Linked DNA regions of Homo sapiens: all the other regions are linked to region 3. Evidence: promoter capture Hi-C in 16 types of primary human blood cells and fetal thymus (Javierre and others, 2016). All regions are on one chromosome and are shown on one strand. Each heading gives the region's core, a stretch centred on a gene start or on the middle of the fragment in contact. The rest is flanking DNA. Distances are from core to core; before and after follow the strand shown. Region 1 holds the start of RPLP0 (ribosomal protein lateral stalk subunit P0). Region 2 holds the start of PLA2G1B (phospholipase A2 group IB). Region 3 has its middle 2.8 kb from the start of POP5. Region 4 holds the start of OASL (2'-5'-oligoadenylate synthetase like). Region 5 holds the start of SPPL3 (signal peptide peptidase like 3).

The links. Contacts are between HindIII fragments. The CHiCAGO score rates a contact against its expected background, and 5 or more counts as called.
Region 1: a contact is called between the fragment with the promoter of RPLP0 here and a fragment that was not itself captured in region 3, in 1 of 17 cell types (total CD8 T cells). The highest score is 5.5, in total CD8 T cells.
Region 2: a contact is called between the fragment with the promoter of PLA2G1B here and a fragment that was not itself captured in region 3, in 4 of 17 cell types (M0 macrophages, M2 macrophages, erythroblasts and 1 more). The highest score is 6.5, in M0 macrophages.
Region 4: a contact is called between the fragment with the promoter of OASL here and a fragment that was not itself captured in region 3, in 6 of 17 cell types (endothelial precursors, M1 macrophages, erythroblasts and 3 more). The highest score is 7.8, in endothelial precursors.
Region 5: the fragment with the promoter of SPPL3 here is called in contact with a fragment that was not itself captured in region 3 in 8 of 17 cell types (M2 macrophages, erythroblasts, megakaryocytes and 5 more); the score reaches 8.7 in M2 macrophages.

What each region holds. Positions count from the first base shown.
Region 1 is chr12:120,199,821-120,202,520 of GRCh38, forward strand. RPLP0 (ribosomal protein lateral stalk subunit P0) reads right to left here and starts at 1,291. Exons shown (of 8, transcript NM_001002.4): 1 at 1,263-1,291; 2 at 910-1,011. The coding sequence starts at 963. It overlaps PXN-AS1 (PXN antisense RNA 1), which reads left to right and starts at 1,471. Exons shown (of 4, transcript NR_038924.1): 1 at 1,471-1,606. RefSeq lists enhancers at 977-1,046, 1,447-1,806. The HindIII fragment of the contact is 6,201 bases long and covers 1-2,700 here.
Region 2 is chr12:120,326,521-120,329,220 of GRCh38, forward strand. PLA2G1B (phospholipase A2 group IB) reads right to left here and starts at 1,259. Exons shown (of 4, transcript NM_000928.3): 1 at 1,200-1,259. The coding sequence starts at 1,233. The HindIII fragment of the contact is 6,320 bases long and covers 975-2,700 here.
Region 3 is chr12:120,582,887-120,585,586 of GRCh38, forward strand. No RefSeq gene overlaps it. Among named protein-coding and RNA genes, the nearest start is that of POP5, 2.8 kb to the left of the region's middle. RefSeq lists silencers at 1,579-1,948, 1,979-2,048. The HindIII fragment of the contact is 5,644 bases long and covers 1-2,700 here.
Region 4 is chr12:121,037,906-121,040,605 of GRCh38, forward strand. OASL (2'-5'-oligoadenylate synthetase like) reads right to left here and starts at 1,341. Exons shown (of 6, transcript NM_003733.4): 1 at 869-1,341. The coding sequence starts at 1,066. RefSeq lists enhancers at 505-1,006, 1,007-1,506, 1,086-1,505. The HindIII fragment of the contact is 5,031 bases long and covers 1-2,700 here.
Region 5 is chr12:120,902,992-120,905,691 of GRCh38, forward strand. It overlaps SPPL3 (signal peptide peptidase like 3), which reads right to left and starts at 1,367. Exons shown (of 11, transcript NM_139015.5): 1 at 854-1,367. The coding sequence starts at 876. It overlaps XLOC_009911 (a long non-coding RNA gene), which reads left to right and starts at 1,704. Exons shown (of 2, transcript NR_131215.1): 1 at 1,704-1,781. RefSeq lists silencers at 717-766, 907-1,126, 1,207-1,566. The HindIII fragment of the contact is 11,636 bases long and covers 1-2,700 here.

The DNA of each region.
Region 1 (2,700 bases), core at 41-2,540, 380 kb before region 3:
GGGCTAGATTCACAGCATTAAAAGCACCACGTTAAGCAAATATAGCAACATTATTATTTGTAAAAACAATCTAGGCGTGTTTATCCGGATTGTTACACAATTCCTTTGGGTTTTGTGTCTGAAAACCTTCTAAGTGTGGGAAAATGTAATACAAGCTATGCTCTACAATGCTGCCTAATTGCTTAAGCGCAGTACAGTCAGCATTTCTGGGCAAGGGAGACCCACCTCAAAGGCCATCCAAAAGTCATTGGACACTTAAGTTTCTTGGCTGACAGGTCCTAAATATGCAACAGCTTGCTTCCTTACAATGAGTCATTCCTGACCTCAGACCTTCTCAAAAATGGAGTAAAACTGTAATGTGCGGCCGGGCGCGGTGGCTCACACCTGTAATCCTAGCACTTAGGGAGGCCGAGGAAGGTGGATCATGAAGTCAAGAGATCGAGACCATCCTGGCCAACATGGTGAATCCCTGTCTCTATTGAAAATACAAAAATTAGCTGGGTGTGGTGTCGCGCCCCTGTAATCCCAGCTACTCGGGAGGCTGAAGCAGGAGAATCGCTTGAACCTGGGAAGCGGAGGTTGCAGTAAGCCAAGATCAAGCCACTGCACTCCAGCCTGGACAACAGAGCGAGACTCCGTTTAAAAAAAAAAAAGTATAAAGCGCGCTCTTTTAGAAGCCAGACAGACCTGGATACGAATGCTGTCATCTTAGGACCCACTTAACTTGCCTGAGCCCGTTTATCTGCAACAGAAGGGACCTATCTCAGGAAATTGTTAACTAAACAGTATTTTCCCAAAAATGGCCTAATTCAGTAGCCGGTGTGAGTAGACCCTCAGCACATAGCAGCTGACTGTCCCTATTTGCGCTGGGGCAACATGAAGAGCAGAGGCGACCCACCCTGCACTTACGATGATCTTAAGGAAGTAGTTGGACTTCCAGGTCGCCCTGTCTTCCCTGGGCATCACGGCGGTGCGTCAGGGATTGCCACGCAGGGTTTAAAGACGATGTCACTGAGGAGAGACAGGGAGCTCAGGCCTGGTCACGCCGACACCCATCCCGCGGTCCCGGGCCTAAGAGGAGCAGGACACGCGCAATCGCCCGCCGGCCCTGCCTAGGGCAGCGGCCGTCATCTCGGGGCGTGCAAGCCGCCACCGAGGCCCCAGGCGGAACAGAATAGGACTCCATGTTCCCAAAGGCCCCCAAAGACCCCTCCATGCTTCCCGCCGGCGACCCCTGGCGCCCATCTAACTAGCACACGAACCTTCCACGAGGACGCCTGGCGAGAGAAGGGCCTCGCGCCCGCGCGTGCCTTTTATAATGCGAACAAAGTAGCCAATCAGAAACCGCGGATAGCGCTCCTGTCTATTGGCTGCGCCATCGCCCGTCAGACAAAGCTGAACGAATACAGGCAACCATTGGATAATATCGCTGCCACTCCAGCCAACGGAAAGCCGCCTTTAAGTAGGGTCGCGAAGGAAGGCGCTGCCTCGCGTTGGAGGAGCTTGCTCTGAGCTGCTGCCACCTGCTGGGCTGGAGCTGGAGCTGGAGCTGCGAATTCGGAGTCCCGGTTCCCTGTGCCACCTGGCGAGCTCAGCAAACTAAAAGGTATGACGTGGAGCTGAGACATAATTGCACATGCTTAGAAACAGAATGGTTTCTCTTTTTTTTTTTTTTTTTGAGACGGAGTGTCGCTCTGTCGCCCAGGCTGGAGCGCAGTGGCGCCATCTCGGCTGACTGCAAGCTCCGCCTCCCGGGTTCACGCCATTCTCCTGCCTCAGCCTCCGGAGTAGCTGGGACTACAGGCGCCCGCCACCGTGCTCGGCTAATTTTTTTTTTGTATTTTTAGTAGAGACGGGGTTTCATCATGTTCTCCAGGATGGTCTCGATCTCCTGACCTCGTGATCTGCCCGCCTCGGCCTCCCAAAGTGCTGGGATTACAGGCGTGACCCGCCGCGCCCGGCCTCAGAATGGTCTCTCGTCTTCTCTAGTTTTTCCGCCTACCAAAACAGAGGGATCCTTTAAAACCTGGCCGGGCGCGGTGGCTCACGCCTATACTCCCAGCACTTCGGGAGGACGAGGCGGGTGGATCACCTGAGGTCAGGAGTTCGAGACTAGCCTGGCCAACATGGCAAAACCCCGTCTCTACTAAAAATACAAAAATTAGCCAGGTGGGGTGGCGCATGCCCGTAATCCCAGCTACTCAGGAGGCCGAGGCAGAAGAATCGCTTGAACCCGGGAGCTGTGAGCTCTGCAGTGAGCTAAGATCACACCATTGCACTCTAGCCTGGGTGACAGAGAGGGACTCCATCTCAAAAAAAAAAAAAAAAAAAAAAAAACCTAAGTCAGCTCATCTCCTTATCTGCTTAAAACTTTCCGTTTCCTACAGAGTAAAAATCTAAAACCTAAAGTACCTACAAGGCCCTTACCTATCTGTCCCTCACGCCCACTCTGATCATCTCAGATGTTTTCCTCCTCACTTACTTGCTTTCTACCCAGATGATGCTCTGCTGCTTTTCCAGAGCAGGCTTTACTTGGGGGCTTTTGCATTAGCCATTCCCTCTTCCTAGAAAACTAGCCAACAAACATCCATAGAATAATTCACCTCCATCAAATCTTTTTTTTTTTTTTTTTTTTTTTTTTTTTTTTTTGAGAAGCAGTCTCACTCCGTTGCCCAGGCTAGAGTGTAGTGGAGCAATCTC
Region 2 (2,700 bases), core at 9-2,508, 260 kb before region 3:
AGCACTTACTATGTGCCAGGCTCTGTCCTAGGAGCTAGAGATACAGCAGTGAACAGATATAATAATAATAATAATAATAATAATAATAATAATAATAATAATAATCTCTAACCTCATGGAGCTTACAACCTAGTGGGAGAGAAAAACAATAAATAATAAATGTGATAAGGCCGGGCACGGTGGCTCATGCCTGTAATCCCAGCACTTTGGGAGGCCGAGGCAGGCGGATCACAAGGTCATGAGATCGAGACCATCCTGGCTAACACGATGAAACCCCGTCTTTATTAAAAATACAAAAAAATTAGCGGGGCGTGGTGGCAGGCGCCTTTAGTCCCAGCTACTGGGGAGGCTGAGGCGGGAGAATGGCGTGAACCCAGCAGGTGGAGCTTGCAGTGAGCCGAGATCGCACCACTGTACTCCAGCCTTGGCGACAAAGCAAGACTCTGTCTCAATAATAATAAGAATAATAATAAATGTGATAAGTAAGGAAACTGGATACTGCATTAGAAAGGGGAAGAATAGAGCAGGATGAGGAGAATCTAAAAGGGAGGTCACCCAGCCTGGCCAACATGGTGAAAACCTGTCTCTACCAAAAAAAACACACAAAAAATTAGCTGGGCATGGTGGTGTGTGCCAGCTACTTGAGAGCTACAAGTCCCAGCTACTTGAGAGGCTGAGGCAAGAGAATTATTTGAACCCAGGAGATGGAGGTTGTAGTGATCTGAGATCACGCCACCGCACTCCAGCCTGGGCGACAGAGTGAGCCCCGTCTCAAAAATAAAATAAAGTAAAATAAAAATAAAAATTAAAATAAAATAAAATAAATGGGAGATTGGCCTAACTACTTAGTTGAGTAAGGTGGGAGGATCACTTGAGCCCACGAGTTGGAAGCTGTGGTGAGCTATGATCATGCCACTGAACTCCAGCCTGGGTGATAGAGCAAGACCCTGTCTGGAAAAAAGAAAATAAAGGCAAGCTTTCTTAGCTCAGGCAATCTGAGTTCAGACTTGCAGGTTGAAAAAGTGCCAGCCTTGAGGGAACCCCAATAGAGGAGCCCTTAAGCCCCACTGGGAACCTCGAATTGAGACTGCGGGGCTGGCCATCCCTGTTTGCTGTGGCCTGTGGCCCCCATTCCAGAGGAGTGAGATCTTAGCTCACTTGGGAGAGAAAGGCGGGTGGAGCCGGGGAGACTTGCCTACCTGTGAGCAGCACAGCTAGCACAAGGAGTTTCATCTTGCAGTCAAGGTGAGAAAAGAACTGAGATGACCAGTCTCAGGTATAGTCTTATAGTCAGTCTCCACACAACCCTGCCCAGATAAGGCTGGAGTGTTTGCTTTGCTCTTGGCTGAGTTTGGGGCTGGCCTTGAATCTGTCTGTTGCAGGAATGACCCTGACGATTTGCCAGCATGGGATCACTGGAAAATATGTTATGCATTTGTCCTTAGCAACTGTTAACCAAAGGGATGGTTTCTGGAGTTTTCAGATCTTACAATCTTGACCCTCATACCCACCACTTTGTACTCAGCCCAGCTTCACGGGCTGGTTGGGGAAAGCAAAGCCGTCAGTTCAGTCGGACGCTGGGATAAGGGAGACAAGAAGGAAGTGCAGCCTGGGCAACATAGAGAGACCTCATCTCTAAAAAAAAAAATGTTAACCAGGTGTGGTGGTGGATTGCACCTGTGATCCCAGCAACTCAGGAGGCTGAGATGGGAGGATCTCTTGAGCCAGGGAGGTCAAGGCTGCAATGAACAGTGATTGAGCCTCTGCAGCAGAGTGAGACCCTATTTCAAAAAAAAAAAAAAAAAAAGAAAGAAAGAAAAAAGATCGCTGCCTGCAGCCTCAATGTCTTATCAAGTGCCTGAATCTGTGCACTGGGTCTGGTTGAATAGTCCCATCAGTCGTGCACCTTGCAGATAAAGAGACAGGTTCAGAGAGTTGCGGTAACTTGCCCAAGGTCACACAGTTGGCAAATGACAAAATAGGGCTCCAGTTTAGATCTGTCTGATTCCAAGGCAGAGGTTTTATTTTTTTCCACCACTCCGCTCTGCAGTGTGGGTTTGTGAGAAAAACCTGGGCTTTGGATTCCAAAGGCCTGAGTCTGAATTATAGAATACTAAAGGGCATTAGAACTGTCATATCAGAGGCCAGGCACGGTGGCTCATGCCTGTAATCCCAGCACTTTGGGAGGCTGAGGCTGGCAGATCACCTGAGGTGGAGAGTTCGAGACCAGCCTGACCAACATGGAATAACCCTGTCTCTACTAAAAACACAAAATTAGCCAGGCATGGTGGCTTATGCCTGTAATCCCAGCTACTCCGGAGGCCGAGGCAGGAGAATGGCTTGAACCCTGGAGGCGGAGGTTGCGGTGAGCTGAGATCACGCCATTGCACTCCAGCCTAGGGAACAAGAGCAAAACTCCATCTCAAAAAAAAACCTGTCACATCACATATCTATTTATTTATATATATTTTTTGAGACGGAGTCTTGCTCTGTTGCCTAGGCTGGAGTGCAATGGCGCGATCTTGGCTCACTGCAAGCTCTGCCTCCCAGGTTCATGCCATTCTCCTGCCTCAGCCTCCCAAGTAGCTGGGACTACAGGCACCCACCACCACGCCCGGTTAATTTTTTTTTTTGTATTTTTAGTAGAGATGGGGTTTCACCGCATTAGCCAGGATGGTCTCGATCTCCTGACCTCGTGAT
Region 3 (2,700 bases), core at 115-2,614:
CTGGATTCAGGCGATTCTCCTGCCTCAGCCTCCCAAGTAGCTGGGACTACAGGTGTGTGCCACCACAACTGGCTAATTTTTGTATTTTTAGTAGGGACAGGGTTTCCCCATGTTGGCCAGGCTGGTCTTGAACTCCTGACCTCAGGTGATCCACCCACCTCGGCCTCCCAAAGTGCTGGGATTACAGGCGTGAGCTACCACGCCTGGCCATTTGGCTATATTTTCATGTCAGCTCTTCAGCGACAATACTGTTTTTTAGCTGTGCAGTATTGCATTGTTTGGACGTACCATTGTGAAGTTGGTCAGTATCCCTTTGGTAGACGTTTACATTATTTCTAGATTTTCTTGTTATACCCAATACTTTGATGCATGGCTTTGTAGCTTAGTCTTTATGCCCATCCCTGATTATTTGTAGAAGTGTCTTGGCCTTGGCTGGTCCTGTGAGGTCCGTAATGGGGGCAGCTTTCACAACCTATTTTTGCAAGATCTGGAATGAGTTCTGAATTTTCCCATCTCCCACTCTTCTTGGCCACCTTAAAGGAGGGATGTGGGGGAAGGTAGGGAAGAAAAGAATAGGAAGAGGGAACGCCGTGGCCCTGCCAAGGGACCAGTGACAGTGACGGCACTCCCCACCCAAGAACAACTTTTCACCAGAAAGTGTCTGCGACATCCTCCTTTGGCCAACAGGGGGCGCCAGAGGTCCGCAGTGCGCGGAGAGAGCAAGACACCCCCAACTCCTGAGCGCTCCACCCCTCATAGAAATTTCACTCCTCCCAGCCTTCATTTCAACAGCAATGCTTCGCCCATTTTATAGATGCAGTTGGGGCTCAGACCAAAGCCTCGTATCCAGTTAGGAGCAGGATCAGAATTCGAACCCAAAGCCAGCTGACTCCTTGTTCTGGTCAACACGGTTGGTGCTCTCCCGTGCAGGATTTCACTCGTCCATTTAGTGTAATAAGATGGAGAGACGACAGATGGAGGTTCGATTCGCTACTCCGTCATTTACTGGCCCGGCCAGGTGCTGTCAGGAGGGTTAATTCATGTCTCAGATCTTAGTTTCCTCATCTGTGCAATGGGATAACAATGGTTCCTCCCTCGTGGGTGGATATGAAGTTTAAGCGGGGTCATGTGGACAAAATGCCTGGCACAGCGAGTGCATAGTAAGCCCTTTTTTTGTTTTTGTTTTTTTTGTTTTGTTTGTTTTTTGAGACTGATTTTTAAGACTGTCTTAAAAACAAGAAAAGAAAAAAGAAAATATAGCCAAACAACAGGAATTTTTTGAGACAGTTTTTTGCTCTGTCGCCCAGGCTGGAGTGCAGTGACGCCATGTCGGCTCACTGCAGCCTCTGCCTCCCGGGTTCAAGCAATTCTCCTGCCTCAGCCTCCAGAGTAGCTGGGATTAAGGCGCCTGCCACGACGCCCGGCTAATTTTGTATTTTTAGTAGAGATTTCACCATGTTGGACAGGCTGGTCTCAAACTCCTGACTTCAAGTGATCCGCCCGCCTCGGCCTCCCAAAGTGTTGGGATTACAGGCGTGTGCCACCGCCCTCGGCAAGTAAACGCTGTTCTGAACAAATGATTTACTTTTCCCCCACAGGCACAGCCCCGGGAGGAAGCACATTGGCACGGCCCGCGGCCTCCCAGTCTTGGACCAGGCCCGGCCCCTTCTGGCCCAGGAGGGTGCAGACGCCGGCGGTGGCCGGGCGGGCGGGCTCCCCGCGGTAATTAGCGCGCGCCGGCTCGGGCTGCGCCAGCCGCTAATTATAAGTCTCCTAATGAGGCCGGCGGCTGTTTGCAATCACCCGGGTCCCCGCTGCGCGGCGCGGGAGGCTGCGGGGGAATCCGCCCGCGGAGGCATGGAGGAGGAGCGGCCGTCTTCCCCGGGGCCCGGAGATCCGCTGGACGGCGACGGGGTGTGCCCCGGCCGTGCCCGCCGCCGGAATGCCGGCCGCGAAGGGGCAGCGGCGGGGGCTCACACCCCAACCCCTCCTCGGTTCTCTCCCCAGCCGGGCCGCAGAGCCATTATCCTCCCCAGGTGAGGAAGCCGATGAGGCTCTGAGAGGTGAGCTCACCCAGGTGCGACATCACAACTCACCCAGGTGCACAATAGAGCCCAATCCACGTCTGTCTGACCCCAGCCTGTGCCCTTAGCCGAGTCAGGTATCCCCTGGATCAATGGGGTGGTCACTGTTGTCATTACTGTTAGCATTATTACAGTCGTCCTGGGACTTCTCAGATTCCTTTTTTTTTTTTTTTTTTTTTTTTTGAGATGGAGTCTCCCTCTGCCGCCTAGGCTGGAGTGCAGTGGCGCGATCTCAGCTCACTGCAACCTCTGCCTCCCGGGTTCAAGCGATTCTTCTGGCTCAGCCTCCCCAGTAGCTGGGACTACGGGCACGTGCCACCTCGCCTGGCTAATTTTTTATATTTTTAGTAGAGACAGGGTTTTACCGTGTTAGCCAGGATGCTCTCCATCTCCTGACCTCGTGATCCACCCACCTTGGCCTCCCAAAGTGCTAGGATTACAGGCGTGAGCCACCGCGACCGGCCTTTTTTTTTTTTTTTTCTGAGACAGGATCTCACTCTGTCCCACAGGCTTGAGGGCAGTAGCTCCATCTTGGCTCACCGCAACCTCTGCCTCCTAGGTTCAAGCGATTCTCCTGCCTCAGCCTCCTGAGTAGCTGGGACTACAGGTGCCCACC
Region 4 (2,700 bases), core at 91-2,590, 450 kb after region 3:
CATTGGTGAAACCCTATCTCTACAAAAAATACAAAAATTAGCTGAGCATGGTGGTGCATGCCTGTAATCCCAAGCTATTTAGGAGGCTGAGGATCACCTGAGCTCAGGGAGATTGAGGCTACAGTGAGTGGTGATTGTGCCACTGCACTCCAGCCTGGGTGACAGAGCGAGACCCTGTCTCTAAAAAAAAAAAAAGTCATTTTATTATCAAAAAGTTAAAACACATAGAAAAATAGATGATACAACTAACACTCATATACCCAACTAGTTGATTCAACAAGTCTAAATTCCTGGCTACATGTGCTTAATCTAAGCCACGTTAAAGTAAATTATAGGCACCAAGGAACTTTGTCCCTAAAATACTTCAGTGTTCGTGTCCAAACAAAAGACAACCTTCTGATAACCACAAAACTACTGTTACACCTAACAAAATCAACAATGATTTCCCATATCAGATATATGTACTATCTGATATCTAGGCCAGTTGTCCCCAAACTATATTTTACAGATGGTTCATTCACACTAGGATCCAACCAAGGACCTCGCATTGTATTGGTTCTGAGCCTCCATTTGCTAATCTGTAAACTGGGCAAAGAATAGTACCTATCTCACAGAGTGCAAGAATTAGAGATAGTGTATGTTAAGAGGTTAGTCCAGTGAGCCCCCAAATGTGAGCTATTATTACTAGACTCATTCTACTCAAGGCAGTGGTGCAGTGGGGTGTAGACAGCTAGGTGGGATGGGGTATTCTGAGATGTCATCAGCATGGGCTAGGGATAAGGAGGACAGGGGTCCCCAGCATCCCCAGGGACGTGGACTCTGATACTGGGTTTTGTCTTGCGTGGGGGCTGGAGGAGCCCAGTCTTACCTTGACTACCTTCAGCACCCGCACATCCTGGTCCAGCCCACGCTTCCCCTGGAAATGCTCCTGCCTCAGAAACTCCTCCACGGTCCGCACAGCGTCTAGCACCTCTTCCTTCCACTCCCGGTGGGGCTGCAGCCACTGAGCCACGAAGGAGTCCAGCCTGGAGGCTGGTGTGCTATACAGTTCCTGCATCAGTGCCATCTCTGTCCCGAGAGTACCGCTGCTGGGCAGATATATAGCCAGGCTCCTACCCAGCTCCCTGGCACACACCTCCTTTTTTAAGGTAGCTCCTCCTCAGCTGCCCTCCAGTGCTCTGTGGGAGGAGGGACCCTAGCAGAGAGGAAACCAGGTGTGACGGGCTGACTCCAGGTCCCCCTTCTTGGAGACACCCTTGCTGCAGTAGGGGCACAGGAGGACTCTGGGCTGAGGCTGGAATATCTGGGGCCACCTTAACAGGCTGGCCGTCTAGTCAATCTGTCATCAGTTTCGATTCTCAACTTTTAGAGTTCTCCTTTATGACGTTGGGAAACTGAAGTTGGATAGTGTTTGACCCCAAAGGAGGCAACTTGCCCAGTAGGTTGGGGTTGGATAGTTGTTAGTCAATTCAACTGCTTACATCTGTCTAAGGAAATTGAGGCTTGGGAACGGAAGGGACTCACTAGTGTTCAGGTGGTGGAGTGAGAATCTGGAGCCCAAGAGAACAGACTGGGAATTCTAGTCTACCTGTGCCAGACTCTAACCTCTTTGACCCTCACTATTCATAGAGTGGGTTTTTTTGTTTTTTTGTTTTTTTTTTTTTTTGGCCGGGTCTTGCTCTGTTGCCCAGGCTGGAGTGCAGTGGTGCAATCTCAGCTCACTACAACCTCTGCCTCACGGGTTCAAGCGATTCTCCTGCCTCAGCCTCCCTAGTAGCTGGGACTACAGACATGTGCCACCACGCCCGGCTAATTTTTTTTTTGTATTTTTAGTAGAGACGGGGGTCTCACCATTTTGGTCAGGCTGGTCTCAAACTCCTGACCTCAAATGATCCGCCCACCTCGGCCTCCCACAGTGCTAGGATTACAGCGTGAGCCACCGCGCCCGGCCCATAGAGTGGGTTTAACAGGTATTATGATTCACGCACTGAACCAAGAAGTTCATGCATTGAGCCAAGAAGACAAAATAAGATGAGGTTCCTGTTCCAAGGGGACTCCCAGAACGGTGGAGGAGACACAGAAAAAAGAGACTGCAAAAGTCCAGTGCGATGAGTTAAGTAGGAAAAAAGCATGAAAACATGAAGCCGGCAGATGAGTTTCATTTGGTGTTAGCAGACACCTGCTTGAGAGGAATCTTAAAGACTGGGGATCCGGGCTGGGCATGGTGGCTCATGCTTGTAGTCCCAGCACTTTGGGAGGCCAAGGTGAGAGGATCACTTGAGGCCAGGAGTTCAAGACCAGCCTGGGCAACATAGCTGGACACCTGCAACTTCCCAAACTCTGAATAATATTAAGTGCTCCAGGGCTTAGTCCTGGGTCCTTTTCTCTTCTTGTTCTAGACTTACTCCCTTGGTGATTTCAGCCAGCGTTTAAATGTTTTTACTCTGGCAACTTCCACATTTTAATTTTATTTTTATTTATTTGTTTATTTTTGAGATGGAGTCTCACTGTCTCGCCCAGGCTGGAGTTCAGTGACACAATCTCGGCTCACTGCAACCTCTGCCTCCCAGGTTCAGGCGATTCTTGTGCCTCAGCCTCCCAAGGAGCTGGGATTACAGGAGCCCGCCACCGCGCCTGGCTAACTTTTTGTATTTTTAGTAGGGACAGTGTTTCACCATGTTGCCCAGGCTGGTCTTGAAC
Region 5 (2,700 bases), core at 117-2,616, 320 kb after region 3:
CCCATAAACTACACAGTAGCTTCTCGCTTCTCGGCCCTTAACGAGCTACTTACTAACTTTAAAAGCCCCACAGAAATGAACTTAACTTGCAGGTCCTCCACCTCCACACTTGGCCCTGGGCGCCATTCCTCTGAAAATAATAGTACCAACCCTTACAAAGACTCTGCCCATGCCCCACTGTCACCAACGAATTCCTTTTCCAGAAGGAAAAGGAAACAGGTTCTTCAGGCTCCTCTTCCAACCTCTTCACCAGTGACTCCCCTCCAAGGTTCGTGGACTCTACCCCCGCAGTTTTCCTCCCCTCACTCCCGGGCCTCTGCCCACCTCACCAACTCTCCCTGCGCTCCCTGTCCCAGAGCCAAGCGGCGGCCGCTCCACTCTCCCAACTTAGAAGTTCTGCCTCTATCACCTGTTCTCACTAGAGCTTCCTCTCAGCCCAGCGGCCCACCTTTGCCCTGGCCTGCCTCTCTCCACCCCTTCGAGTCCTCCTGCCCAGGAAACACCCCCACGAGTCAGTTCCGGGGTGCCTGTCGGATTCAACTTCCCATCCGTGGGATTCCCACCCCCGGGGTCATGCTCCCCTTCTCCATCACCTGCTCCGCCCATAGCCAGATGACATCCGCCGCTGCCTCCTCCTCCATTCCCCTTCTCGGACGCCAGGTCCCCGGCCACTCACCGCCCTCCGTGCGCGCCAGCCGCCCCCTCCGGTGGGGAAGAGGGGGGCGTGCACCCCAACCCGCGCCCCCCCCCCACGACACGCACCTGTTCTTCCTCCTCTTCCCCTCGGCGGGCCGCGCCGGCGCCCCGACCCCCACCCTTGCCGCCTCCCGGCCTCCCGGAGCCCCGCACTCACCACGAGTAGGTCTGCTCCGCCATGGCGCTGCCTCTCGTGGGCTCCGCTGCAGGCTGTGGCCGGGCCCGGCGGCGGCGGGCTCGCTCGGGCCGTAGCTGAAGGCGCGGCCGGGGTCCGGTGCTTGCTTGCTTGCTCGCTCGCTGGCTCGCTGGCTGCACGGCGGGCCGGGAAGGCGGCTGGCGGGGAGAGGCCGGGCTCCGAAGCGGCCCCGCTCCCTGGGCCCCGGGGCGGGGCGGGCTCCGCTCTCGGCCTCCCTCACCCGCGGCGGCGGCGGCGGCTCCGCTGCAGCTCCAAACCCAACATGGCGGCGGCGGCGGCGCGGAGAACAAGGGGGCCCTGGGGCGGGCGAACGGCAAGACGGGCCCGCGCTCACTGCGCGCGGGGCCGCGGGAGCGCCGCGCTCGGGCGGCGGCGGCGGCGGCCGGGGGACATGGCCGGCGGGCGGAGGCGGCGGCGACTGAGGGGGGCGCTAGGCGATGAGGCGAGGCCACTCGATCACACCCGCCGAGGGGAGGAGGGGCGGGGGCGGGGGCGAGCCTTGGCCCCGCGCGGGTCACGTGCCCAAAACACGCTCACGTGATGCGCGCCCCGCCCCTCGAGCCGGGCCCATGCGCAGAGACGTCGGCTCCTGGGTTCTAGGCGGCTGCTGCTCGCACAGCCAGAGCAGTTGGGCCGCCTCCCGCTGCCTGGTGCCGCCCCCCTCCCCACGCGGAGATGTCGCCTCGGGTACCCTCTTCCGCCCCTCTCCGAGGGGCTGCTGCACCAGCCAATCGGGAACCCCGATGCGCGTCTGTTGGCTGCCACTCAGCTGTCAACCGTCAGTCAACAGTCTGCTGGCCACGGGCCCCCCAACTGTCAGTCAACCTGTCAGTCAACAGGCAGAGGGCTGCATTCCTTCGTTCGTATGTTCCTTGGTTCATTCATTCAGGTAGCAAATATTCCAGGCAGCCAACCTTTATTGCGCCCAGGCCCGGCACCAAGTCGAATACCCCACGCTTGCCTTCACAGAATCAATCAACAGATATTTGTTGGGTGCCAACCATGTGTCAACTCACTCTGCCTTCCTAGAGCTTACATTCTAAAGGAAGAGACATAGTCCAAGCCCACAAATAAGATAATTTCAGATGCTGCTAAGTTTTACAAAAACACATTTTGTAACACAAGGTGAGGGGACAGAGAGTGAGCAGAGGTGTGGGTTACTTTAGATAGGGTGGTCAAGGAAGGCCTCGCTTAGGAGGTGACATTTGAGCTGATATTGAATGATGACAGAGAGCTGGCCTTGCAAAGATCCACAGGAAAAGAGTTCCTGGCAGAGGGAACAGCAAGGGCAGAAGGCTCAGGAAACCGTCCATTTGGAGGTCTGGAAACCGGCACAGAAATAAACACGGTAGAGCTAGACCAGAGACCAACAAAGTGAATCTGGAGCTTAGATGGAGAGAGAAGAGAGAGATTAATTGAGGCCCCAGGTACTGCGGAATGCTTCCCCAGGAGTGGATGAGGCCGTCTGAAAGGGTGAGAGGCTTATCAAAGAAAAGTCATTCTTTTGGCCGGGCGCGGTGGCTCACGCCTGTAGTCCCAGCACTTTGGGAGGCCGAGGTGGGTGGATCATGAGGTCAGGAGATCGGGACCATCCTGGTTAACACGGTGAAACCCTGTCTCTACTAAAAATACAAAAAATTAGCCGGGCGTGGTGGTGGACGCCTGTAATCCCAGCTACTCAGGAGGTTGAGGCAGGAGAATGGCGTGAACCCCGGAGGCAGAGCTTGCAGTGAGCCGAGATTGCGCCACTGCACTCCAGCCTGGGCAACAGCGAGACTCTGTCTCAAAAAAAAAAAAAGAAAAAGAAA